Linked DNA regions of Homo sapiens: all the other regions are linked to region 1. The links are contacts of gene promoters, found by promoter capture Hi-C in blood cells and fetal thymus (Javierre and others, 2016). All regions are on one chromosome and are shown on one strand. The core of a region is centred on a gene start or on the middle of the fragment in contact, and the rest is flanking DNA. Distances in the headings are between cores, read along the strand shown.

What was found. The method cuts DNA at HindIII sites, captures the fragments that hold promoters and counts their contacts. A CHiCAGO score of 5 or more calls a contact.
Region 2: a fragment that was not itself captured here is called in contact with the fragment with the promoter of PEF1 in region 1 in 1 of 17 cell types (fetal thymus); the score reaches 5.5 in fetal thymus.
Region 3: a contact is called between a fragment that was not itself captured here and the fragment with the promoter of PEF1 in region 1, in 9 of 17 cell types (fetal thymus, naive CD8 T cells, monocytes and 6 more). The highest score is 8.2, in fetal thymus.
Region 4: a contact is called between a fragment that was not itself captured here and the fragment with the promoter of PEF1 in region 1, in 2 of 17 cell types (fetal thymus and neutrophils). The highest score is 6.0, in fetal thymus.
Region 5: a contact is called between a fragment that was not itself captured here and the fragment with the promoter of PEF1 in region 1, in 3 of 17 cell types (total CD8 T cells, M1 macrophages and fetal thymus). The highest score is 6.0, in total CD8 T cells.
Region 6: a contact is called between a fragment that was not itself captured here and the fragment with the promoter of PEF1 in region 1, in 2 of 17 cell types (naive CD4 T cells and M1 macrophages). The highest score is 6.6, in naive CD4 T cells.

What each region holds. Positions count from the first base shown.
Region 1 is chr1:31,642,690-31,646,983 of GRCh38, reverse strand. It overlaps PEF1 (penta-EF-hand domain containing 1), which reads left to right and starts at 2,108. Exons shown (of 5, transcript NM_012392.4): 1 at 2,108-2,143. The coding sequence starts at 2,120. PEF1-AS1 (PEF1 and COL16A1 antisense RNA 1) reads right to left here and starts at 2,848. Exons shown (of 6, transcript NR_184313.1): 1 at 2,688-2,848; 2 at 2,138-2,272. RefSeq lists enhancers at 1,639-1,978, 2,219-2,288, 1,608-2,378. The HindIII fragment of the contact is 8,144 bases long and covers 1-4,294 here.
Region 2 is chr1:32,076,608-32,080,901 of GRCh38, reverse strand. It overlaps TMEM39B (transmembrane protein 39B), which reads right to left. Exons shown (of 9, transcript NM_018056.4): 4 at 4,056-4,139; 5 at 3,584-3,738. Among named protein-coding and RNA genes, the nearest start is that of TMEM39B, 5.8 kb to the right of the region's middle. The HindIII fragment of the contact is 448 bases long and covers 2,369-2,816 here.
Region 3 is chr1:32,055,863-32,060,156 of GRCh38, reverse strand. It overlaps a transcript of KHDRBS1 not described here. Among named protein-coding and RNA genes, the nearest start is that of TMEM39B, 15 kb to the left of the region's middle. The HindIII fragment of the contact is 3,085 bases long and covers 308-3,392 here.
Region 4 is chr1:32,036,218-32,040,511 of GRCh38, reverse strand. KHDRBS1 (KH RNA binding domain containing, signal transduction associated 1) reads right to left here. Exons shown (of 9, transcript NM_006559.3): 5 at 3,469-3,602; 6 at 2,476-2,677; 7 at 1,893-1,960; 8 at 939-997. Among named protein-coding and RNA genes, the nearest start is that of KHDRBS1, 24 kb to the right of the region's middle. The HindIII fragment of the contact is 3,062 bases long and covers 947-4,008 here.
Region 5 is chr1:32,003,095-32,007,388 of GRCh38, reverse strand. No RefSeq gene overlaps it. Among named protein-coding and RNA genes, the nearest start is that of KHDRBS1, 8.6 kb to the left of the region's middle. The HindIII fragment of the contact is 4,207 bases long and covers 1-3,902 here.
Region 6 is chr1:31,985,030-31,989,323 of GRCh38, reverse strand. No RefSeq gene overlaps it. Among named protein-coding and RNA genes, the nearest start is that of KHDRBS1, 27 kb to the left of the region's middle. RefSeq lists an enhancer at 3,902-3,971. The HindIII fragment of the contact is 806 bases long and covers 1,378-2,183 here.

The DNA.
Region 1 (4,294 bases), core at 859-3,358:
GTTTGAATTAGAGCAAATGGAGATGAGGGAGGTGAGGGAGTGTGTGGAGAAAAAAAGGACACACAGGAATGATCTTAGGTTTTTGGCCTGAGAGACTGGGTGGATTTTCTGAGATGGAGAGGAATGGGTTTTGGGGAAAACACCAAAAGAAAACTCTTATACAAGGCAGGCTGGAATACCACACAGTGACAGTACCAAGTGCAAAGGGGGAGTGGCAAGAGAGAGTGGCTAACTCTGGAGCTAAGGGGAATGTGGGAGGGTTAGGTGGAGAATGGAATTGGAACTGAGCCTTGCAGGACTGGAGTTGGGAGGGCTGCTGGTCCAGGTGAAAGGAGTGGTTTGAACCTAAGTTTGGGGCATGAGCAGGTATAATAAGCTCATTTTCAAATTTACACATTTGTTCCTGTCAGCTAAGAAAAGTGAAATTTAGAGAGGTTAAATAACTTGCCTAAATAAAATGTGGTAGATATACACTGTGGAATACTATGCAGCCATAAAAAAGGAACAAGATCATGTCCTTTGCAGGGACGTGGATGGAATTGGAAGCCATTATCCTCAGCAAACTAACAGAGAAACAGAAAACCAAACACCGCATGTTACCACTTATAAGTGGGAGCTGAATGAGGAGAGCACATACACCACTGGGGTCTGTCGGAGCGTAGAGGGAGGTGGGAAGAGGGAGAGCATCAGGAAGAATAGCTAATGGATGCTGGGCTTAACACTTGGGTGATGGGATGATGTGTGCGACAAACCACCATGGCACACATTTACCTATGTAACAAACCACATCCTGCTCATATACCCCTGATCTTAAAAGTTGGAAATTAAAAACAAACAAACAAAAAACCTGCCTAAGGTGATACAGTTAGAAAGTGATAAAACAAAGATCCTCCCTCCAAAGCAGAAGTGCTGAATGGTGGAACTGAGCACAGAAATACAGAGTAGCAGAAGGGGCCGTAAGATTGGAAAGTTGAGGCTGGGCCAGATTCTGAAGGGCCTGGAGTACCAGAATGAAGAGATTGGGCCTTATTTTGTAGGCGTGGATGAAGAGCATCCATTGTAGGCTGTGTAGTGGGCAAGTGGCATGATCAGCACTGTGATTTTGGAAAGTGCACTTGGTTAGATAGATGGACTAGACTGGATAACAGTTCGTAACATTCATTTATTCATTTATTTTAATAATCGTGTCAGTCGCTATACTAGGTACTGGAGTTATAATGACAAGCAAAAACAGACAAAACCCTAGCCCACATGAAAGAACTTGACAAAGAAATCAAATAAGCACACAAATAAGTGTAGAAACGGAACCACTGAGTGGCAAGTACATGGTGCTGAGATCACTCGGTCACCAGGATTTGACCTACGATGGGGACCGACCTAGACCTCCCTGCTGAGAACTGGACATCCATTGACCCCGGTTCTAGGCGACCCACTGTGAGCTAGGGCAAGGCAACTGCCTCTCTGCACCTCAGTTTCCCCATTTATGAAGAAAGAGGCACTAGATAATTCAATTTTCCTCCAACTCTAATGATCTGGGGTTTTTTTCTCCAAAGACCACAGATCTGTATCCCACTACAAGGGTACTAACTGGTACCCAGTACCTTGACATTAGAGGAGTAATTCCGCCATCGCCTCTCCCTACCGGGAAGAGTCGGTCGGTTCCCCGTTGTCAGGGCAACCGCCTGGCCACCGCCCCTCGTCTCCTTTCCCGCGGCTCATCTGCGGAAACTCAGGAGCTACTCCAGCAATTACGTCACTATCATGCGTCCCATTTGCCAGGTTATAACATGGCTACCGCAGCAACACCCCACCCAGGCTTCTCACTAAATTTCCCAACCTGACCACCTCTTCGGCCCACTCCACCTCAGGAAAAGGAGGAACATTAGCGCTGGTACAGCCGCCAAGACTTCCGGAAGCTCCATCAATCACTTAGCTCCCCTGGTCTCTCGGGTAGGCATCCGCCCACCGCCCCCATCGTCACTTCCGTCGGCCGACAGCACCCAAGATTGACAGGCGCGGACGTCCAATCAGATGCGGGCCCAGCCCCAAAGCCGAGACGAGGGGCGGGTTTGAGAGCGGAAAGCCCCACCCCTTGCCTGAGTGTGACGTCAGAATCACCATGGCCAGCTATCCTTACCGGCAGGTGAGTGTGTGAGGGGCCCGCGAATCCAGGTAGCGGCGGTGCCAGGCGCAGGCCCGACGTCCCCCTGCTCTTTCTCCCCGCTTTCTCCGCGCCCTTCCCACGATGGGTTCGCTTCAGCGAGGCCTTGCGCTGTAGAGAACCGAAAAGGGACCGTCGGTCGCGCCCTGCTCACGTCATGAAGGACCGCACATTCGCGAGGTCGTGTCGCGCCCCCTTGACGTCGCTCACTCGAGGATTTGGGGACCTTGGACCCCACAGGTCCAGGCTGGCGCTGGCCTGGGCTCCACAGCCTCCCAAGGCCCTCATGGGGGCCTTGGGCGGGGGCATCAGCCATGACCGGAGGTTTAGAGTTCTGGTTCCGCCGATCTCATTTGGGGCGTCGGATAAAAATCCAGGCTTCCGGACCCACCCCACACTGCATCAGAGTCATCAGGAAACTCTGGTTGTAGCAGGCGCCACAAGTGAGCTGGTTTGACCACTGACTTAGTTCAACACCGCCATTTCGCGTGTAGAAAAGTGAACCCCGAGAAGACACAGAACTTACCTGAAGTCACCAGGCAGTTAGGCAGCAGGGCCGAGGTCAGAACCCGGGCTATCTTCAGATGCCTCTTCCCCAGCGTATCTTGATTCAGTCAGGAATACCGCAGCAAGGTGATTCTGTGGCCAGAATTCTTTGTTGGGTGATAGTAGGGTGTTGAAGTGCACTTTGGTGTCAGAGGTAGGTTCATATCTTAGCTCTACCACCTAAATAGTTGTGAGCCCTTGAGCAAGCTGTTTTGCCTTTCTGAGTCCAAGTTTCCGCCTGTAAAATAGGGCCGAATAATAGGATCTGCCTCATAAAGCTGTTGTGGAGAGTCAGGAGGTGATGCTTACGAAGCGTTTGGTACATAGTGAGGTGTAACATGTGTTGCCCTTTAGCATTTTGATTTTTAGTAGACTTCTAAAAGGCCAGTGCCCGGAGGGTCCTCAAAATAGAGCCCTCATTTTACAGAGGAGGAAATGAAGCCCACAGAGGGCTGCGATCACACAGTTATTTAGGAGATGAAATCCATAAACGAAATGTGGGAAAACAAGATCAATTGGTATATTACACAGTGCTCAACTGAGTTTAGTCACAGGCCAAAAGATGTAACAGTCCTTCCAGGGAGTGCAGTCTTGTGCGGGTTACACAGTGTTTGGACCTCCATTATCCTAATCATGAAGTCCCTATCGGCATGCAGGTATTATTACCCCTAATTAACTGCTGAGGAGCAAACCCAAAGAGGTTAAGTGGCTTCCCAAAAGTCACACGTAGTAAGTGAGGGTGAGGCCATGACCAGAGCTTAGGACTTCTCTTATTGCATCCTTAGAGAGAGGTAGGAAAGAGAGAGGCCAGTGCGGGCTGGAGTTAGGAAGTGTAGCATAGCAGTTGCTTCCTAAAGTCCATTCCATTTGCTGAGTCTTGGGAGGTTTTAATAGATATTGTTAATATAGGAGGATTCTGTAGTTAACTAAAGTTTTGGAAATACTCTTAAGTATAGCTGAATAAGTTTATTGACCACAAGCTATTTCAGAATCCTTAATTTGCTAATGTACATTGTAAATCATCCAGAAAGGAATATAATATGCAGTATTTCTTAAACATATCTAACCATAGAAACTCCGCCTCCCGGCTTTCTTTTCAGATGTCTGGTCACTTTTTTGACTCTAGTATTTCTGAGGAACACAGGCTGAAAAAACATTCATAGCGCCTTGTTTCCCAGTGGCTGGTCTTCTGCCTCAGAATCAGCTGAGAGCTTGTTTAAGAAAGCACACTTTTGGGTCCCACTTCAGACCTGTTCTGTACCCAGGAATCTACATGCTAATAAGCATTAGGGACAATTGGTGTGCATCCTAAAAGCAGTGACAGGTTAGAGAGAACTGTGCTAGAATTCTAGCTGTATTACTTAATAGTTATATACCCCTGGACAAACTAAGGGCTCTGAGCCTCAGCTTCCTCACCTGTATAAAGGGAGAAATAATACCTGTGAAAAGGGCTAAAATGAGGTTAAAATGCAGGGAGCCTGGCGTGTTGCTAGTGCCTAGTACATGCCAGTGTCTGGTGGCAGCTCTTGCTGCCGTGACTGCTCTCATGATGCCATGCTGCCTGGGCTATTCCTGGAGTGAAATACT
Region 2 (4,294 bases), core at 1,343-3,842, 430 kb before region 1:
TGAGCTACCGTGCCCAGCAATGGTTTTCATTATAAGCTTTTCAGCACTATTGGATTTAATTTTTTACAATATGTTTATATTTGGTCAATAAACATTTTTAAATTAAATAATGAAAAATAAAGCATAATATGACATTGGGTGTTATCTGCATCCATGAAGAAAAGATTCACCAGGTAGTAACCATAAACTGTCAAATTAAGGCAACTCTTTTTTTTTTTTTTTTTTTTGAGACAGAGTCTCACTCTGTTGCCCAGGCTGGAGTGCAGTGGTGCAGTGGTGCGATCTTGGCTCACTGCAAGCTCCGCCTCCCAGGTTCACACCATTCTCCTGCCTCAGCCTCCCGAGTAGCTGGGACTGCAAGTGCCATCCACCATGCCCGGCTAGTTTTTTGTATTTTTTTAGTAGAGACGGGGTTTCACTGTGTTAGCCAGGATGGTCTCAATCTCCTGACCTCGTGATCCACCCGCCTCAGCCTCCCAAAGTGCTGGGATTACAGGCATGAGCCACCGCGTCCGACAGGCAACTCTTAAGTTCTAACCAGTGCAACCCTTTCGAAGGACAATTTGTTAATAACTATGAAAAATCTAAATGAATCCATCTTTTGGTGTAGTTAATTCTTCTGGGAATCTACTGTGCAGAGATACTGGACACATATGCAATTATTCATTGTTATGAATAAGGAAAAGCTAGAAACAACTTAAAAGTTTGCCAGTAGGCCAGGCACGGTGGCTCACGCCTGTAATCACAGCACTTTGGGAGACCAAGGTGGGCGGATCACGAGGTCAGGAGATCGAGACCATCCTGGCTAACACGGTGAAACCCCATCTCTACTAAGAATACAAAAAATTGCCGAGCATGGTGGCTCATGTCTGTAATCCCAGCACTTTGGGAGGCCAAGGCAGGCGGATCACCTGAGACCAGCCTGACCAACATGGAGAAACCCCATCTCTACTAGAAATACAAAATTAGCTGGGCTTGGTGGAGCATGCCTGTAGTCTCAGCTACTTGGGAGGCTGAGGCAGGAGAACTGCTTGAACCCGGGAGTTGGAGGCTGCAGTGAGCCAAGATTGCACCACTGCACTCCAGCCTGGGCAACAGAGCAAGACTCCATCTCAGAAAAAAAAAAAAATTGCCAATAGAAGACAAATAAATTGTGAAAATTCTATAACATAGAATACTGCGAGGCCATTAAAAAAATGAGGCAGCAGGTCATGATGGCGCATGCCCATAGTCCCAGCTACTCAGAAGGCTGAGGTGGGAGGATTGCTTGAGCCGAGGAATTCTATGCTATAATGTGCTATGCCGATGAGGTGCCTGCATAGAAGTTCAGCATCCATATGGTGAACTCCTGGGAGTGGGGGACCACATAATTGCCTAAGGAGGGGATGAACTGGTCCAGGTTAGAAATAGAACAGGTTGGCCAGGCGCGGTGGCTCATGCCTGTAATCCCAGCACTTTGGGAGGCCGAGGCGGGCAGATCATGAGGTCAGGAGATTGAGACCATCCTGGCTAACACGGTGAAACCCTGTCTCTACTAAAAATACAAAAAATTAGCTAGGTGTGGTGGCAGGCGCCTGTAGTCCCAGCTACTCAGGAGGCTGAGGCAGGAGAATGGTGTGAACCCGGGAGGTGGAGCTTGCAGTGAGCCAAGATTGTGCCACTGCACTCCAGCCTGGGCGACAGAGCGAGACTCCATCTCAAAAAAAAAAAAAAAAAGAAAGAAATAGAACAGGTTAAAACTCCTGTGTTGATCAGTAGTGGGAACAGACCTGTGAATAGCCACTGCACTCCAGCCTGGGCAATACAGCAAGACCCTCATCTCTAAAATAAAATAAAATAATGAGACAGACCCGTATGTATTGGCATAGAAAAATATCTGTTATATGATTAAGTGAAAAGTGTGGTAAATTGTACATCATGCATAGCATAATACCATTTTTCTTTTTTAAAAAACTGCATGTGGCCAGGCACAGTGGCTCACATCTGTAATCCCAGCACTTTGGGAGGACAAGGTGGGCAGATCACTTGAGGCCAGGAGTTCGAGACCAGCCTGGCCAACATGATGAAACCCCAACTCTACTAAAAATACAAAAAGTAGCCAGGCGTGGTGGTGGGCACCTGTAATCCCAGTTACTTGGGAGGCTGAGGCAGGAAAATTGCTTGAATCCAGGAGGCAGAGGTTGCAGTGAGCCGAGATCGTGCCACTGCACTCCAGCCCGGGTGACATCAGACTGTCTCAAGAACAAACAAACAAAAAAACTGCATGTGTGTGTACTTGCACAGAAAATATTTTGGGAAAATTGCTGCCAGTAATGGATTTCTGGGGGAATAAGACTATGTGGGACTTTCTTTTTCCATGTTAAAAGCTTCTGTAAAGTTTAATGTTTTTATAAGACATTATAATGTTTTTTTTTTTTAAAGACAGGACCTCACTCCAGTTGCTTAAGCTAGAGTACAGTGGCACAATTTCGGCTCACTGCAGCCTCGACCTCCTGAGCTCAGGTGATTCTCCCACCTCAGCTTCCTGAGTAGCTGGGACTATAGGCGTGCCTCACCACACCTGGCTAGTTTTTTATGTTTTTAGTAGACAGGATTTCGCCATGTTGCCTAGGCTGGTCTCAAACCCCTGGACTCAAGCAATCTGCCTGTCTTGGCCTCCAAAGTGCTGGGATTACAGGTTTGTGCTACTGTGCCTGGCCACATGTCACTCTTATAATTAAAAAGTAGATATAACTGAAGGAAGTGTGACAGGGCTCCCATGCCAGTGCCTTTTTGGACATGCAGGGTAGAAAGGGGGAGGTGCCAGCTCTGAAGCTTCCCAGAGACCAGGATTGACCCAGCTTGAGGAATTTTGTGAACCAGAAAACCTGGGGGTTGGGAAACGACTGTTAATGCTCAGGCAGCCAGCAGCCTGCCCCAGAAGCAGCCAGATCCAACACCTCACCAAAGTTCTCCCTGATGCAAGGCGAGAAATGGGCAGTCCTGGGCACATCCCCGAAACAGTCTCTCCATCCTCAACAATCTAGGGTCTGGTGAGACGGAGAAAGAGAGCAAAAACAGGCACAAAGGCATACACACATGCATATGCAGGCACACACACATGCTTCATGCATAGACACCCACACGCTTCATGCATAGACACCCACACAGAGACATGCAACCATGCAGCTGTTTGCTGGCACACAGACTCAGGGAGATACCAAGAGATTACACAAACACTGAGATACACAAAGAGAGACACAGAGAAAGGGAAAGAACCAGAGGGAGGGGAAAGGAAGAGCGAGGGAGACAAAGCCCATACATTCCCTCTTGGGAATGTTCCTTTGGGATATATATGCAGATCTGAGTCCCATTCTGACCTCCCCCATAGTGAGAGCTGGGTAAATTATGCCACCTCAGTTTCGTCTGCAAAAAAAGGCTAATTATCCTGACCTCAGTGAGTGAGTGTCATCTGACAATGTGAGAGGATGTTGCTGCCTGCCTCCGATCTTCCAGATATGGAGGCCTGGTGAGCCAGCTACGGTCAGGGCAGAGGTCAGGGGCCAGGTGCTGGGCAGTGAGGGGTGAAGTGAGGGGTACTCACGGATAGCAGAGGAACAGGAGGTTCAGGAAGGAGTAGGTCCTGAAGAGGTGGATGAGGGATCGGCACAGACTCCAGCCTGTTGCCGTGAGAACGGTGAAGCGAGTGAGGAACAGCAGGATGGAGCGAAAGAGGGAGACCTTCCCCCTCTGAGAGGCCTGGGTCGGGGCAAGATAGGACGGGATGGGGCCTTGGATGGAGGCCGAAGGGGCTGTGCCCAAATCCCACCCAGCATGACCTGTGATCCCACCCAGGGAGAGGTGGCACAGCAGGCTGGGCAGAACCTGGCAAGGTAAATCCTTCTCTTTGATGCCCAGTAAACTCCAAGATGGGATGTAACTAATGTTCTTCAACCAAGTCCAAAGGGAGCCCCAAGGAAATACCCTAAGGCTGAAGGGCTGGGCATGTTTCCTTGGCATCCCCAGGGGAAAAGGGGAATCCCAAAGTCCCTGGCCAGCCTCTAGGACCCAATCACCTCCTTCACGATGGACCCAATGAAGCGGCGGCCCAGAACGATGGTGGTCACCATCAGCAAGTTGAAGTCGATCAGATGGAAGTTCTGTCAGGGGGCAGAGGCCTGGGGGTCATGTGGGCCCCTTGCCCATATGCAGGCTTTTTTCATACCCACCTCCCGCTGCCCATTTCTTTCCACAGAGACTGTCCTCATTCTCTGACCTTCATCGGCCTCCAGCTGAGTCAGGCCAGGAAATTACC
Region 3 (4,294 bases), core at 601-3,100, 410 kb before region 1:
AGACACAAGGTAGAAAATTAAGAAAGCTCCCTATTAGGGGGCTTCCCAGCCTCCCACCTGACCAGGATGCTTCCCTCACAATTGCCCCATCCCACAGCACAACTCTACTTGTTTCATTCAGTACACAAGTTTCTTGGGTACACAGATGGGTAGAAAACAGAAGTCCACAGCCTATGAATTCTCTTTTTACTGTCTGTCTGGTAATGAAAATGCAGTCTCACGCTCAATATCTCCTGTCCTTGGCCATATCTCAGCTGAGTGGATCCAGGGAAGAATCAACAAAACCTTTGGGGGGCCTATCCAAGCTTTGAAGCCTCTATAAACAAAGGGAAAAATGCTTTCTGCTGTCCTAGAAATGTGAAAAAGATGAACAAAAATCTTTAAAGTCTTTTGAAGAATGGAAATCAGAAAATAGGCATCTTATTATCACTATTATTGGTAACTCAATGTTAGGCTCAAGGGGCGATGGATGTTATGAAGGATTCATCCCAGCACCAAATACTCAGGGTGGACTAGAGGAGACGCATCTTAAATCTGCGGCACAGGGAAGGGGCTTGATCTCATGCTAAAACCTATAGCAATGCTCCTTCTTCTTCTTCTTCTTTTTTTTTTTTTTAAAGAAAGAGTCTTGCTTTGTCACTCAGACTGGAGTACAGTGGCAACATCATGGCTCACTTCAGCCTTGATCTCCTGGGCTAAAGTGATCCTCCAACCTCAGCCTCCATATACGATCACAGACACACACCAACATCCCTGGCTAATTTTTAAATTTTTGTCTCCATATGTTGCTCAGACTGGTCTCAAACTCCTGGGATCCTCTTAATGGCTTGCCAGAGTGCTGGGATTATAGGTGTGAGCCACCATGCCTGGCCAGTGCTTCCGATCTTTTAAATGGCGCTACCATCTCCCTTAGTTGTTCCAGTCAGTAACCTGGAGCCTTAATATGTTCATTCTATCGCCTAAAAGGTTTTGTTTTTTTTTTTTTTTTTTTCTCCTGAGACAGAGTCTCGCTCTGTCACTCAGGCTGGAGTGCAGGGGCATAATCTTAGCTCCAGTACTGCAGCCTCTGCCTTCTGGGTTCCAGTGATTCTCCTCCCTCAGGCTCCCAAGTAGCCGGGATTACAGGCACGCACCACCATGCCCAGCTAATTTTTGTATTTTTAGTAGAGATGGGGTTTCACCATGATGGCCAGGCTGGTCTCAAACTCCTGACCTCAGGTGATCCGCCCACCTCGGTCTCCCAAAGCGCTAGGATTATTACAGGCATGAGCCACTGTGCCTGACAAAAGTTCTTGAATTCATTGACTTCTCTATGTTTGCAATATTACTCTACTATAGACCTTTTTTGTTGTTGTTGAGACAGTCTCACTCTGTTACTCAGGCTGCAGTGCAGTGGCACGATCTCAATTCACTACAACCTCTGCTTCCTTGGCTCAAGCGATCCTCCTGCCTCCACCTCCCGAGCAGCTGGGATTACAGGCATGTGCTACCATGCTCGGCTAGACCTTTCTTATTTCTTGCCTAGACTAGCAAGTTTCTTAACAGGGCCCCATAACCATTCTCCACTCATCAGCAAGTTTAAAAATCAGACATTGAATAATTTCATTTTCCACACCCCCCCTCCTCCCATTCAAGTTGTCTTCAGTGGGATGTTAGGACTGCCATGTGTTAAGGGACTCTCCTCATATTCTATTCCTTTCAACCACCCTGTGAATTGGAAACCAAAACTCTATGATAAACTTTGCTTTTTTAAGGTCAGCCAGGTGCAGTGGCTCACACCTGTAATCGTAGCACTTTGGGATGCCGAGATGGGAGGATTGCTTGAGGCCAGATTGCTTGAGGCCAGAAGTTCTCCATCCTGGGCAACATAGTAATACCTTGTCTCTACAAAAAATAAAAAAATAAGCTGGGTGCAGTGGCCCATGCCTACAGTCCCAGCTACTCTGGAGGCTGAGGTGAGAGGATGTCTTGAGCCCAGGAGGTAGAAGCTGCAGTGAGCTATGATCAATGCAGTGAGACCCCATCTGTTTTTTTTTTTTTGAGACAGTTTCACTCTTATTGCCCAGTCTGGAGTACGGTGGTGCGATCTCGGCTCACTCCTACCTCCGCCTCCTGGGTTCAAGCAATCTTCCTGCCTCAGCCTCCTAAGTAGCTGGGATTACAGGCGCCCGCCACCACACTCAGCTAATTTTTTGTTTTTTTGGTACAGGTGGGGTTTCACCATGTTGGCCAGGCTGGTCTTGAACTCCTGACCTCAGGTGATCTGCCCGCCTCGGCCTCCCAAAGTGCTGGGATTACAGGTGTGAGCCACCGCACCCGGCCCCTGAGACCCCATCTCTCTCTCTCTTTTTTTTTTTTGAGATGGAGTCTCGCTCTGTCGCCCAGGCTGGAGTGCAGTGGCGCGATCTCAGCTCACTGCAAGCTCTGCCTCCCGGGTTCACGCCATTCTCCTGCCTCAGCCTCCCGAGTAGCTGGGACTACAGGCACCCGCCACCATGCCCAGCTAATTTTTTGTATTTTTAGTAGAGACGGGTTTCACTGTGTTAGCCAGGATGGTCTCGAACTCCTGACCTCGTGATCCGCCCGCCTCAGCCTCCCAAAGTGCTGGGGTTACAGGCGTTAAGCCACCACGCCCGGCTGACCTCATCTCTTTAAAAAAAAAAAAAAAAAAGAAAAGAAGAAGGTCCAGCTAGGTGTGGTGGCTAACACCCATAAATCCCAACACTTTGGGAGGTTAACATAGGAGGACCAATTTTGCCTAGGAGTTGGAAACCAGCCTGGGCAACAGATTGAGATCTTGTCTCTACAAAAAATAGAAAAAATTAGCCACCTGCCTATAGTCCCAGTTACTTGGGAGGCTGAGGTGGAGGATCACTTGAGCCTGGATCACTTGAGGGTGTAATGAGCCATCATATTGATAAGTGCTCCAGCTTGGATGACAGAACAAGACCCTGTCTCAAAAATAAAAATAAAAAAGGTCCAGATTCGTACCTCGGCTTCAACTTGCTTCAGTCCTATCCTCTGCCTATAATGTGCTGCTCTATGTCCTTTCCCCAAGCCCTCTGCCTAGCTAAGTCCTCCTTTATATGTTGGCTTAAACATCATTTCCTCAAGGAAAACCACAGTATTAGGTTGTATACCCTCATTGCACCCTGTTCTTTTCTTTGTAGAACTTAACACAATTGAAATTATGTTATTTATGAGATTATCTGTTTAGTATCTGTTTCCACAAATAGACTATAAGCTCCATGAAGCCAAGGACCATTTTATATTGTTCACCGGCCACTGGATCCCCAGTGTCTAGCACATAGTAGGTGTTCTAATGTATAATAGTGAATGTATTTTTAAAAATAATGAAAGGAGACATTTGTACTGATTTCTAGAGAGAAGCTTAGAAAGAATCACATCAGAGCATAAGATATTTCTCTTTCTCAAAGGCAGATGCAGAATTTGTTTGCTACATTCCAACCCCAGAGAGCCTGAGACCTGAGGAGCAACCATCTTATACCTAAAGCTAGGCCATGAATAGGAACCATGAAGGCTGCTGGAGTTAGAAGACCCCTGGGAATAATTAGCTCTGTATCTGAACCCAAACTCTTCTATCTCAAGTTTTCACACACATCACAGTGCCTAGAAGAAAGAGACTGGATACCCTGAGGTGGGCACCAGAGGTTGACAGGGGAACAGCCAATTCAGGCATCTTAATGCAATATTAAGATCAGAAATAGTACCCAAATTTCTGGCAAGGTGCCCTATTTAGCTGATTAATCTGGGCTGATAGACTGGCTGTGCCTCACACTCTATCTAGAAACATCTCAACTAAGCTGTCTTTTTTAAGGAGTCCCTGGACAACCCCCGCCCCCACCCCCAATTTGCCCTGAAAGTGACAAGGCCTCCTTGAAGCAAGAAGCTCCCCAAGGTCTAAGGATGGGGTTAGCTTGTGTACATGAGAACTCCTATCGGCCCATTCCCTGCCTGAGATGCAAAGACAATCACCACAGTACCGGCTAGGAATGAGAGGTACAGTCACTGGTGAGAGGCTAGTGAATCTGTGATCAAGGAATGCTAAGAAGCTAAACCTTAGCAGCACGGCTATGAAATTCACATCCCTTCCAGATACATGTCTCTCTCCTTTTAGAAGAGAGCTGTATACGAAAGCAGAAAGTACATTCGAAACAAACAAAAAAACAGAGAGTGCTACAGTTTGCAGAACACTAGATGAGACTGCATCCTCAGCTTCAGAGCCAGAATAGACAATAGAGTGGAAGACCTCCAGTCCTGGGACTGGAAAATG
Region 4 (4,294 bases), core at 1,228-3,727, 390 kb before region 1:
TTCAAGCCAACAAGGAGCTTGGTGCCAGTACTGTCCTGAATTATTGGCTCTAGCCCCTACAGCCTCTAATCTGATTCTAATAGGCACTATTTTTTTTTTTTGAGACGGACTTTTGTTGCCCAGGCTGGAGTGCAATGGCACGGTCTCAGCTCGTTGCAACCTCCGCCTCCCAGGTTCAAGTGATTCTCATGCCTCAGCCTCCCAAGTAGCTGAGATTAAAGGCGCCCACCACCACACCTGGCTAATTTTTTTGTATTTTTAGTAGAGACAGGGTTTCACCATCTTGGCCAGGCTGGTCTCGAACTCCTGACCACAGGTGATCCGCCTGCCTCGGCCTCGCAAAGTGTTGGGATTACAGGCATGAGCCACCACGCCCGGCCCTAATAGGCACTATTCTTGCCCCGCAACCTGGTCTGGCTAGCTGCTTGCCATCTAGGTCCCTTTCAGCTGACATTTCCTTTACAATGACATTCTTTTCAATGAGATCTAAATTTTTTTTTTAATGAAATGGGGTAGATGAGTACAGTTGTGTACGATTAAGTTCTTGTTATCTACCAAAGTGGCCTAGATATCGGCAGCAAAGGCCCAGAAATACAACCCAGGTCTAGCTATTTCCCTGCCTAAAGTAGAAAAAAAATAACATTAGCTTATAAGTCTGCTGCTCCAACCAGGGCCAAGCTGGTCTTGAGCCCTTGTTTAAGACAAACACTACCCTTCCAAGAGTAACGATACCCCACCTCACTTTAGCAGTCCCTCTTTCTACCATGTACCGCAAAATTTAAGCAAGAGCAGAACTCTTACTGTCACATCTAGCAAAATCTTGGCCTTCTAAAGGTTTATCCGTAGGTGTGTTTGTCTGACTCTCAATACTTTAGTCACCAGCATTCTCCCAGGCACTTACTTGTACATTCTGCCCCACCACAGAGATAAAGACATACCATAAGCTTCATAAGAATCTTGAACCTCCCCATGTCCATAGTCATAATATTCTGAGTCCCTGAAAGCCAAAGGCAGAGTGTTAGGAAGCTACAGAGTAACTATGTTTCAACTTTCTCTCAAATACTTCCATAAGTCAGTCATTTTACTAAGTGTATTAATACAGGAAAATACTCATTCTGCCCCATCCCTAAACCGTAAAGTATTTCCAAAATATGTATAGACTATGTACTTATAAAATAATTGACAACTATTGCAAAGAAAAATGGATACCACAGAATATAAAGTGAAAAAGCACAATCCTAAATTGACCCTTTTAATATAGCATATATATACATGTATTCATAGGGCTCACCAGAAGGAAAAAAGAACTGTTTTATCACTGCTGTAGAATTCTGGAACTCTTTTTCAATCAATTCACAGGTAAGCTATATATATGGACACACAAGGAAATGGTCTTAAAGAGAAATGCAGAAAAGAACCTAAGTTATGGTAATGGAATTCAAGTTTCTTGTAAAATTTTATGGAGCTTTAATGTGGTTTTGATATTTTAAAATAATAAATCAAAATAACATAAAGGCATTTCTCCTTGTTTCCATGTAGTCACAGCTTGGAAATTTTTCATTTGTTACTCTCAGGTTCTAAATTATAATTTAAGGTTCACAGTTATCCAGATTTACAAATCCAAGTGTGTGCTTCACAGATGTCAAACGCAGAGGAAAGCATTGCATGGTGGCACGCACCTGTAACCCCAGCTACTAGAGAGAGCTAAAGTGGGAGGACTGCTTGAGCTCAAGAGTTCAAGACCAGTCAGGACTGTGGGGGTTGCAGAGGAGATACCCTCAAAAGGCGAACCATTCTGCTCCTTAGGGTTGTACTGTCTAAATCTCTCTGTTCCTCCAACTCCCTCCATCCATCCTCAGGACAAAAAACAGTGCTTATACTGCCTGACTCACCCTTGACTCTGGCTGTAATAGCCTTCGTAGCCTTCGTAACTTTGTTCTGCGTATGTATCATCATATCCCTAGAACAACAACAACAAAAAAATGAAATAAAAGATCAAAATCATAGAGAGTAGGAAAGGTAATTACATCCCATGGGAGTAAGTAGGCTTCTGAATTAAAAGGACATGACATTTCCCTCCAAAATGTTAATGCCTACTGTAGAATAGTCAAAAGAGAAAGGGTTACTAAACAAAGAAAACCCAAACAAATATGATATGCCACAGAAGAAGTGTGGGCAGGAAGTAAAGTACAAAATCGAGCTTTAGTATTATCAGTACTAGTAGTAAGAAATTCATTATAAAATACTACATTAAAGTACATTTTATTTCTTGTTTAATCTACAGGCGTATAGTAAAACCCTGCCTAAAATGGAAAAATCTTCTAATAGTTCAACATTCACTGCAAGAGAAGAGGGCAGATTGCAAATCTTACAGGCAGTCCATGACACCTACATAAAGGACCGAGGCCCTGTCATTCAACTTCCTTTAGCAGCCTTCTAGGTACTGGGAAATGGCACATTGTTCAAATTTCTTACATATTCTTCATATGTTTCTGGTGCAGGAGGTGGAGGCAAAGGTATCCTCTGGATGCCCGCTGTCCGTGCTCTTGGTGCTGGAGCACCCCTCACAGTAGGTGGGGGTGGCACGCCTCGAGTCACAGTGGCACCTCTGGTGATGGCTCCCCTTACTGGTGTACCACGTACCAAAGCCCCCCGAGGTGGTCCAACACCACGGCCCCTACAAAATGAAAGTTTATCTTAAATGGAGCTTTTTATAAACAGGCCACTTTTATGTTCTGATTTGTTTACAAATTCTGGAATTAGGCAGATTTTATGAAGCCTTAACTAGGCTATTATTAAAGCACAGAGGAATGTACAGGGTAAAGGACCCACACTGCAAGATCCCCCAGGTCCTATAGAGGACCAATTCATCACTGCACTGCCTTGGGTAGGTCTGGAGAGTCTGAATACTCTATAAAGGTCAGTCACAAAAGGTAGAATTTTAAAGTCAGACCATTAACAAATGCTAAGACTGTCCAAAATTAGAAGACCAAAAGTTTCAGCTAGACTGCAGCACTTGGCTATGGTCAAAGTGCCCAAGATCTAGAACTCTATTTTTTTTTTTTTTTGAAATGGAGTCTTGCTCTATCTCCCAGGCTGAAGTGCAGTGGCATGATCTCGGCTCACTGCAACTTCCGTCTCCTGGGTTCAAGCAATTCTCTTGCCCCAGCCTCCTGAGTAGTGTGGTGTATGCCACCACACCTGGATAATTTTTGTATTTTTAGTAGAGACAGGGTTTCACCATGTTGGCCAGGCTGGTCTCAAACTCCAAATGTCAGTTGATCCGCCTGCCTTAGCCTCCTAAAGTGCTGGGATTACAGGTGTGAGAGTATGGTTGTAGAATTCTGTTCTTTATGCAACATACAAATCCTGAGACCCTTCCTAAGCTAGACATAAGAGCACCACTAAAAGAGATGACACTAGTAGTCAAATTCACATCCTATTTCTGGGTGTCTCCATTATTTTTACCTGGGAACAGGTGGTGGAGGAGGTGCAGCTCCCCGGCCTCTCACTGGCACCCCACGTCCACGAGAGGGTTCAGGTACTCCATTCAAGTAGGACAGCTCTAGAAATTGCTCCTGACAGATATCATCCATCATATCCTGGGAACGAAAGATACAAGGAGTATTGTGTGGTATCTACACTTTCTACTGAGAAATCATCTGGTCCACGGGAGACTTGAATTCTAAGAAGAGCTCTTGAGAGCCCAGATGAGGTCTCAGGTCATTCCTTCTCTGAAGTCAAATGGCACCCTATCTGTCACCTCTTTGAGAAAAGTCTTGATGGTAGACCCCTCATTATTCATAATGTGGTCTCTGCCTAGCTCTCCGGATCACTTCCATTCTCTCTCTATATATAACCTACTCACAAGCCAGACTGAACAACTTGTAGTTCAGAGCCTGGCATACTCTTACATATCCATTCTTTGCAAATAGTTTCCTTTTCCTGGAATAATAAAAGCCACTACCATTAATGGAGCTGTATGCACTTGGCTCTATATAATAAGCTTTATATAGATTTTTCAGTTTAATCTTCAAAATGAGGGCCGGGTGCAGTGGCTCACGCCTGTAATCCCAGCACTTTGGGAGGCCGAGGCGGGCAGATCACGAGGTCAGGAGATCGAGACCACCCTGGCTAACACGGTGAAACGCTATCTCTACTAAAAATACAAAAAAATTAGCCGGGCGCGGCAGGCACCTGTAGTCCCAGCTACTCGGAAGGCTGAGGCAGGAGAATGGCGAGAACCCGGGAGGCGGAGCTTGCAGTGAGCCAAGATAGCGCCACTGCAGTCCGG
Region 5 (4,294 bases), core at 550-3,049, 360 kb before region 1:
CACCCTCATAATAGTCTGAGTCCTGCCCACAGGGTCATCAGGCACTCCCACAGTAGGCACCTTTGGTAGGGGCAGAGGGGATCAGAGCAAGGCTGATGTGACCAGTGATAGCCTTGTGTGAAAAGTCCCTAGAGAAATCCCAGAAATACTTGAAGGAGACTTTGCTGGGGCAAGAACAGGAACTTGGGATGATTAGCATTCACGTGGCTTTGTTTGAATCCACAGACCACTGAGGCTTGTGTGATGTTTGCATTATAATCATCTTTTTTTTTTTTTTCCTGCCTGTCCTGCTAACCAGAAAGTGAGCTGCTTGCCAGGTGCAGTGGGTCACATCTGCAATCCCAGCACTTTGGGAGGCCAAGGCAGGCAGATCACCTGAGGTCAGGAGTTTTTAGACCAGCCTGGCCAACATGGTGAAACCCCATATCTACTAAAAATACAAAAATTAGCCAGGTGTGGTTGTGGGCGCCAGTAATCCCAGCTACTCGGGAGGCTGAGGCAGGAGAATCGCTTGAACCCAAGAGGTGGAGGTTGCAGTGAACCGAGATTGCATCACTGCACTCCAGCCTGGGCGACAGAGCGAGACTTCATCTAAAATAATAATAATAATAATAATAAATAAAAAATAAAAATTACCCAGGCATGGTGGCGGGCACCTGTAATCCCAGCTATTTGGGAGGCTGAGGCAGGAGAATCGCTTGAACCTGGGAGGTGGAGGTTACAGTGAGCCAAGATCGCGTCATTGCACTCCAGCCTGGGCAACAAGAGTGAAACTCCATTTCAAAAATAAATAAATAGATAGGCTGGGCGCAGTGGCTCCCAATCCCAGCACTTTGGGAGGCTGAGGTGGGTGGATCAGCTGAGGTCAGGAGTTCGAGACGAGTCTGGCCAACATGGCAAAACCCCGTCTCTACTAAAACTACAAAAATTAGCCAGGTGTGGTGGCACCTGCCTTTAATCCCAGCTACACGGGATGCTGAGGCAGGAGAATTGCTTGAACCTGGGAGGTGGAGGTTGCAGTGAGCCGAGATCGCACCACTGCACTCCAGCCTGGGTTACAGAGAAAGACTGTCTCAAAATAAATAAATAAATAAACAAACAAACTCCCACTCTGCCCTTTGCCACTGACCTGCTCCTCCTCAGTGTCTGTATCTTAGGGAACAGCACCCCTAACTCACTGCACACCCTGGATATCTGAGACTTGTTCTGACTTCCCTCCTCTGCCTCATCACTCTACCCCCACCACATACAAACCATTCTTAAGTCCTTTGTTGCTTACCTCATAAATACTGAAAATCCCATCCACATTTCTCTGTCTCCCCTGCCTCTGCCTCCAGCTGAAGTGCCATAATGCCTCTCTTGAACTTCTGCCACCTCTGACCTGGTCCCCTACTTCCACTCCTTTTCCCCTTTTCTATTTTCAACCCAGAAGCCAGAATAGTATTTTTCCTATTGCCTTTAGGATAAAGACCTGAGTCCTGTTAACATGTTTGACCTGCCCCTACCTGTATGCCTTTCTTTTCTTTTTTTATAGAGATCGGGTCTCACTGTATTGCCCAGGCTGGAATGCAGTGGCGCCATCATAGCTCACTGCAGCCTCCAACTCCTGGCCTCAAATGATCCTCCTTCCTCAGCCTCCCAAGTAGCTGGGACTACAGGTGCTACTGTGCCCAGCTACACATGGCTTTCTTACCTCATCTCATGCCATTCTCCTCCCTGGTTCCTGTGCTTAGCAACCCTGGCCTTTTTCAGTTCCTCAAATAAGCCAGACTCCTGCTTCCTCTCGACCACACCCATTCTGGTTCCTTAGCTTAAAACTCCAATCACTGTCCCCCTTCCTCCAATCCAGTCCCTTGTCTTTTCTTTCTTTAGCTACTCCTCTTTTCTTTAGCTACTGTAATTCCTATATATTCTTCCGATATAGTCAATTGCCACTTCTTCAGGGAAGGTGTCCAGGCCCCCTAGTGCAGATTGGCTTAGCTCCCTTTGTTACATGCTTTCATGGCTCCTTCCTAAAACAGCACCTTTTAAATTTACCTCTTTGGGGCTGGATGTGGTGGCTCATTCCTGTAATCCCAGCATTTTGGGAGGCCAAGGTGGGTGGATTACTTGAGCTCAGGAGTTCGAGACCAGCCTGGGCAACATGGCGAAACCCTGTCTCTACCAAAAAAAAAAAAAAAAAAAAATTCACTGGGTGTAGTGATGTGAGCCTGTGGTCCCAGCTACTTGGGAGGCTAAGGTGGGAGGATTGCTTGAGCCCAGGAGGTGGAGGTTGCGGTGAGCCGAGCTCATGCCACTGTACTCCATCTTGGGTGACAGAGTGATACCCCATCTCAAAAAAAAAAAAAAAAAAACCACACAAAAATTTACCTCTTTGTGATTATTTGAGTAACCTCCATCTCTGCAACTCAAATGTAAGCTCTATGAGAGCAGGAACTTTGTTTCTGGTGTTTAAGGTTATGTCCCCAGCACAGTGCTGGTCTGGATTGGCTGATCAGTAAATATTTGTTGACTCAATGAATATCAATAGGAACAGCACATGCAAAGACAACAAAACTTTACAAAACTTGGTGTGGGTCCCTGGAATGGCAAGTTGCGGGATATGAGCTAGATTTGGATGAGTGGGGAGGGGCTCATGGAAGATGGCAGGAGATAAGGCCAAAAGGTAGTCTGAGCCGGGCGGGCTGGCTCACGCCTGTAATCCCAGCACTTTGGGAGGCGGAGGCGGGTGGATCACGAGGTCAGGAGATTGAGACCATCCTGGCTAACATGGTGAAACCCCGTCTCTACTAAAAATACAAAAAAAATTAGCCGGGCGCGGTGGCGGGCGCCTGTAGTCCCAGCTACTCAGGAGGCTGAGGCAGGAGAATGGCGTGAACCCGGGAGGCGGAGCTTGCAGTGAGCCAAGATCGCGCCACTGCACTCCAGCCTGGGTGACAGAGCGAGACTCCGTCTCAAAAAAAAAAAAAGGTAGTCTGAGTCTTGATGCTCAGATAAGGAGATAGAGTGCCAGTGGAGAACAGTGAGATAACGTGGTCAGACGCGGAAAGGAGGGAAGAACACCACAGCTCACAGGTTAGATTTAGCCTATCCATATGTTTTAAAATTGGGCCTATCTAGGCCGGGCGCAGTGGCTCACGCCTGTAATCCCAGCACTTTGGTAGGCCGAGGCGGGTAGATCACAAGGTCAGGACCGACCTGGCCAAGATGGTGAAACCCCGTCTCTACTAAAAATACAAAAATTAGCCGGACGTGGTGGCAGGCACCTGTAATCCCAGCTACTTGGGAGGCTGAGGCAGAGAATTGCTTGAACCTGGGAGGTGGAGGTTGCAGTGAGCCAAGATTGTGCCACTGCACTCCAGCCTGGGCAACACAGTGAGACTCCATCTCAAAAAATAAAATAAAATAAAATAAAATAAAATAAAATAAAATAAAATAAAATAAAATTAGGCCTACCTAACTTTAAAAAATTGAATTAGTTGCCAATACTTAAACATTAGGAGATTTCATATTTTTTAAAAAGTTCTGGATTTCTGGTTTTTCTTGAAACATCAGATGTTCTAGGGACGTACAGGAGTTCTGGGCTCATACTCCTCCAAGCAATAACTAGCTTCTGCCTTTAGATGGCACTACCTCTAACTCCCCAGGCGTTTATGCTACCAGCCTGCCTCTTTAAGCGTTTGATTGAGGTAGTGATCCTGTCCTAGATCATTCTGGTCGTGGAATGGGAGAGGAGACTGCAATGGCAGTCAGAGAAGCCCAGGGAGAGAAGGGAGTTCACCCTCAATTTGGAGATATGTAGACCCAAGGGACACTATATTTGGGCTCAGTCAGGCTCAGGCCTGGGGCTGGGGAGGGGGATAATATTCAGAACTTAGGGCCACCCTTTCACATTAGAAGCTTAGTTTGGGCTCAAAGAGAATATAAAAGCAAAGGAATCCACTGTGATGCTGGCTGATCTGAGAGCAACCTTTGGAATTTTAGCAAAATAAATGCCACCTTCTGGGCTCAGGCTCACCTCTGTCCTCTTCATGCCTCAGAGAGATAAAAGATGAGTAAAGCTGTGGACCTCACTGTAGAAGAAACTGGCAGTCTTGAGGGAAAGGAAGGCATTTAAAGAACTAAATAATAGGCTGGGTGCGGTGGCTTACACCTGTAATTGCAGCACTTTGGGAGGTCGAGGCGGGTGGATCACCTGAGGTCAGGAGTTCGAGACCAGCCTGACCAACATGGTGAAACCCCATCTCTACTAAAAATACAAAAATTAGCCGGGTGTAGTGGCAGGTGCCTGCAG
Region 6 (4,294 bases), core at 531-3,030, 340 kb before region 1:
CGCAGGAAAATTGCTTGAACCAAGGAGGCAGAGGTTGCAGTGAGCCGACATCACGCCACTGCACTCCAGCCTGGTGACAGAGCGAGACTCCGTCTCAAAAAAAAAAAAAAAAAAAAAAAAAAGCCTGGTGCGGTGGCTCAAGCCTGTAATCCCAGCAGCACTTTGGGAGGCTGAGAGGGGCAGATCACGAGGTCAGGAGATCGAGACCATCCTGGCTAACACGGTGAAACCCCGTCTCTACTAAAAATACAAAAAAAAAAAAAAAAAAATTAGCTAGGCGTGGTGGCGGGCGCCTGTAGTCCCAGCTATTCTGGAGGCTGAGGCAGGAGAATGGTGTGAACCCAGGAGGTGGAGCTTGCTTTGAGCCAAGATTGCGCCACTGTACACCAGCATGGGCGACAGAGCGAGACTCTGTCTCAAAATAAATAAATAAATAAAATAAAATAAAATAAAATAAAATAATAATATGGACAGTGACCGTTTAGTGAGCACTTCCTGAGCAACATGCTGCACTAAATAGTTTACATATATTAACTTCATTCTCATGGCAGCCCTTTGAGGTAGGTATTATTAATCTCATTTTGCAGTGAGGAAATTGAAGCTCAGACAGGTTAAGTGACACCATCGAAGTCACATAGCCAGAAAGTTGTTGCAGTGGGCTATGTATGAAGCTATCAGTTTCTATTGCCTCCTCAGAATTTTTATTTTTTAATTTTAGAATGAAATTCTTGCTTGCTCCAGGCTGGAGTGCAGTGGTGTTGTGATCACAGCTCACCGCAGCCTTGACCTCCTTGGCTCAAGCTATCCTCTCACCTCGGCCCCCAAGTAGCTGGGACCACAGGCATGTGCCACCACACCTGGCTAATTTTTTTTTTTGTAAAGGTGGGGTCTTGCTTTGCTACCCAGGCTGGTCTCAAACTCCCGGGCTAAAGCAATTCCCCCGCCTTAGCCTGCCAAAGTGCTGGGATTACAGGTGTGAGCCACTGCGCCTGGCCCTCCCCAGAGTTTTTTTTTTTTTTTTTTTTTGAGACGGGGTCTCACTCTGTCGCCCAGGCTGGAGTGCAGTGGCACGATCTCGGCTCACTGCAAGCTCCGCCTCCCGGGTTCACGCCATTCTCCTGCCTCAGCCTCCTGAGTAGCTGGGACTACAGGCACCCACCAGCACGCCCGGCTAATTTTTTTGTATTTTTAGTAGAGATGGGGTTTCACCATGTTAGCCAGGATAGTCTCGATCTCCTGACCTGGTGATCCACCCGCCTCGGCCTCCCAAAGTGCTGGGATTACAGGCTTGAGCCACCGCGCCCGGCCTTCCCCAGAATTTCTTACAGAAAATTTCTACTCGGGATCCAGTAGGTGACCAGCTAGTGCTCTGAAGCTTTGTATGCCATTAATTGCTTAACGTCAGTATCACATGCGCTCTGGATGATTCTCGGTGGCTCCAATGCTGAGTGTGTGGTGGTTGACTCTACTGCATCAGTATCACTCAAGACTGCTCTATCGAGTTACAATGCCTCCTCTTTGTCAGGGTCCTGGCTTCCCCCAGGGCTTGAGGACAGTATGTGGCTTTTGAACTTGCTTTTCATCGGGGATGGAGAAAGCATGCGAGTTCACCCACTGCCTCAATTGTTAGAAGTGTCTGGGCAGAATCAGGCATATGTGGCTGGCCGATGTCTCTCCCTGGTAGTTCCAGGGGCCAGCCTCGCCTTCCTGTCTGAACTCGGCAGGGACAGGCTGGCTGGGTCGACAGAGGCATCTGCCTGGCAGTTGGGGGCCTGTGAGAATAGCTCTAGTTCTCACCCAGCAGCCTGAGTTGTGGCCTGGGCAAGACCTAGTGAAGGCACACGTTAGTCACAGCAGCCTGGGTGGGGAGGGGGCAGGCATGGGGAGTTCCCTGTGGAGTTCTGGGCAGAAGAGAAGAGCTCAGCTATCACTGTGTGACTGGTAGGGCAGAGTGAGGAGGGGCGTTAGGCCAAGTGCCTCTCTTCCCCTTGGTCGTTAGTCGAGAGCCTCAGGGAAAACGCCAGCCTTCCTGATCTGATCTAATTTCGAGCCCCCCTGCTGTGTGACAGAATGATTCTCTCTGCACATGGTCAGCCGCAGATTTTTCTCAAGGTGAAAGCAATTAGGGCTTCATTCCCTCCTCCCCCAGCTGCTAGAAATAAAAGGAAGATGGAAGAGAAGCTTCTGCCAAGGTCAGCCAGAATGCCCAGTCCTGTTCCTGTAATTGGCTCTGCCACCTGCTCACACCTCTCACAGGTTGTTGTGGTCTCAGGCATTTTGGTGTCCCCCAGGGCTGAGGCAGTGAAGACAGCAGGAGCTACTGCTTTTACATCTCTCTCCAGGACAAGAAAGAGGGCATCTTCACCCTGCCCTGGGTGGGGAATGTGCAGGAACTGTGTGAGCCAGGCCTGGGCGGCACACACAGATGGAGCTGAGCTGTTCTCTCCTTTCTCTGGAAGAATCAAAACCCAGGCAAGAGAAAAGTCATTGGAAGGTGGGAGAACTCATTCATTTGGTCAACTGCTAAACCAAGCACTTTGCTAGGCGTTCCTGGTCCCTGTAGTCTTGGAGCCAAGGGGAACAGAGTGGGTGCAGGAGGTGGAGGGATGGGGAAGTCAACGGGCAGGCAATTCCAAAGGTACCAAATGTCACAAAGGAGGACAGCAGGATACCACGGGAACCTGACCTACGATAGAAATTAGGTTCTTGGCTTTTTTTTTTTCCTTAATTTTTAAATGTATTGTCATAGAGATGAGGTTTCACTGTGTTGCCCAGGCTGGTCTTGAACTCCTGGGCTCAAGCAATCCTCTCTTCTTGGCTTCCCAAAGTACTGGGCTTACAGGTGTGAGTGACCAACCACATCCAGCCTTATTTTATTTTATTTTATTTTATTTTATTTTATTTTATTTTATTTTATTTTATTTTATTTTATTTTATTTTATTAGAGAAAGGGTCTTGCTTTGCTGTCCAGGCTGAAGTGCAGTAGCATGAACAGGGCTCACCGCAGCTTTGACCTCCTGGGCTATAAGTGATCCTCCTGCCTCATCCTCTAGAGTAGTTGGGACTACAGACATGCTCCACCATGCCTGGCTAATTTTTAAATTTTTCAGAGAGACAGGGGTCTCACCCTGTTGCCCAGGCTGGTCTTGGCCTCAAGCAATCCTCCTGCCTTGCCTCCCAAAGTGCTGGAATTTCAGGCGTGAGCCACTGCACCAAGCCTACCCCGTTTTTAAGAGTCTCGGGCTGGGTAAGGTGGCTCATGCCTGTAATCCCAGCACTTTGCAGTGTAGTGGCTAGTCTCTACAAAAAAAAGTTTTTAAAAAATGAGCTGGGCTTGGTGTGGTACACCTGTGTTTCCAGCTACTTGGGAGGCTGAGGCAGGAGGATCACTTACAGCCCAGGAGGTTGAGGCTGCAGTGAGTTGTGTTGGTGCCACTGCACTCCAGCCTGGGTAACAGAGCAAGATCCTGTCTCAAAAACAGATAAAAAAATAAACAAATAGAGATAAAATCTCATGGTAAAATATTTAAAAATAAAGGATAAAAATTGAAATCAGAAGCTCCAAATTACTCCCCACCATCTTCCCTGGTGGTAACAGCTGTTAACAGAGTGTTATGTACTTTTCCGGGGGACTTTCCAAATGTATTCAAGTGTAAGTACATATACAGGGCCGTCCTCTTTAAAAACGGGGTTGTTACTACGCTCCTATCCAGCTGGTGACTTCCCCTGCCTCCACTTCACAATATACCCAGGGCATTTTTTCCATGTTAGTACAGAGAGCTTCACCTCATTCTTTTTGGTGGCTGTGTGGTATAAGGAAGTGATTTTTGAAGGGTAAAACCTGAAGAATAAGTAAGATTAGTAAGGCAAAGGGATGGTTCTCTAAAGCACTGAGCCTGGGAAAACAAAAGCAACATAGATCTCTCTAACTATATCTCCTAATGTCTCCCTTCCTTCTGCGTTTAGACCCCCCGCTCCCTCTGCTGCCACATTTTTCTCTAATTTGCAAAGCAGTTCAGCTGTCTTTGTCTTGCCCTAGCTCTGGAGAGCTTCATTCTTCATGCCAAAGCAACTTATGAAGTATTTTCCCAAACAAAGAACCCTCTACCCAGAGAAAAATTGTGCCACTCCCCTAATAGACAAAAGTAGCTGCAGGCAGTTGTGGTTTAAAATAGCAATTAAGAAAAAAAAAATCTGTTACACCATAAAGCACCTGGCAGTTCATAAATGGTGGTTATTTGTTACTAATATTATTTTACATGTGTTGATGGATGGGTTGGCTGCTGCAAGTTCC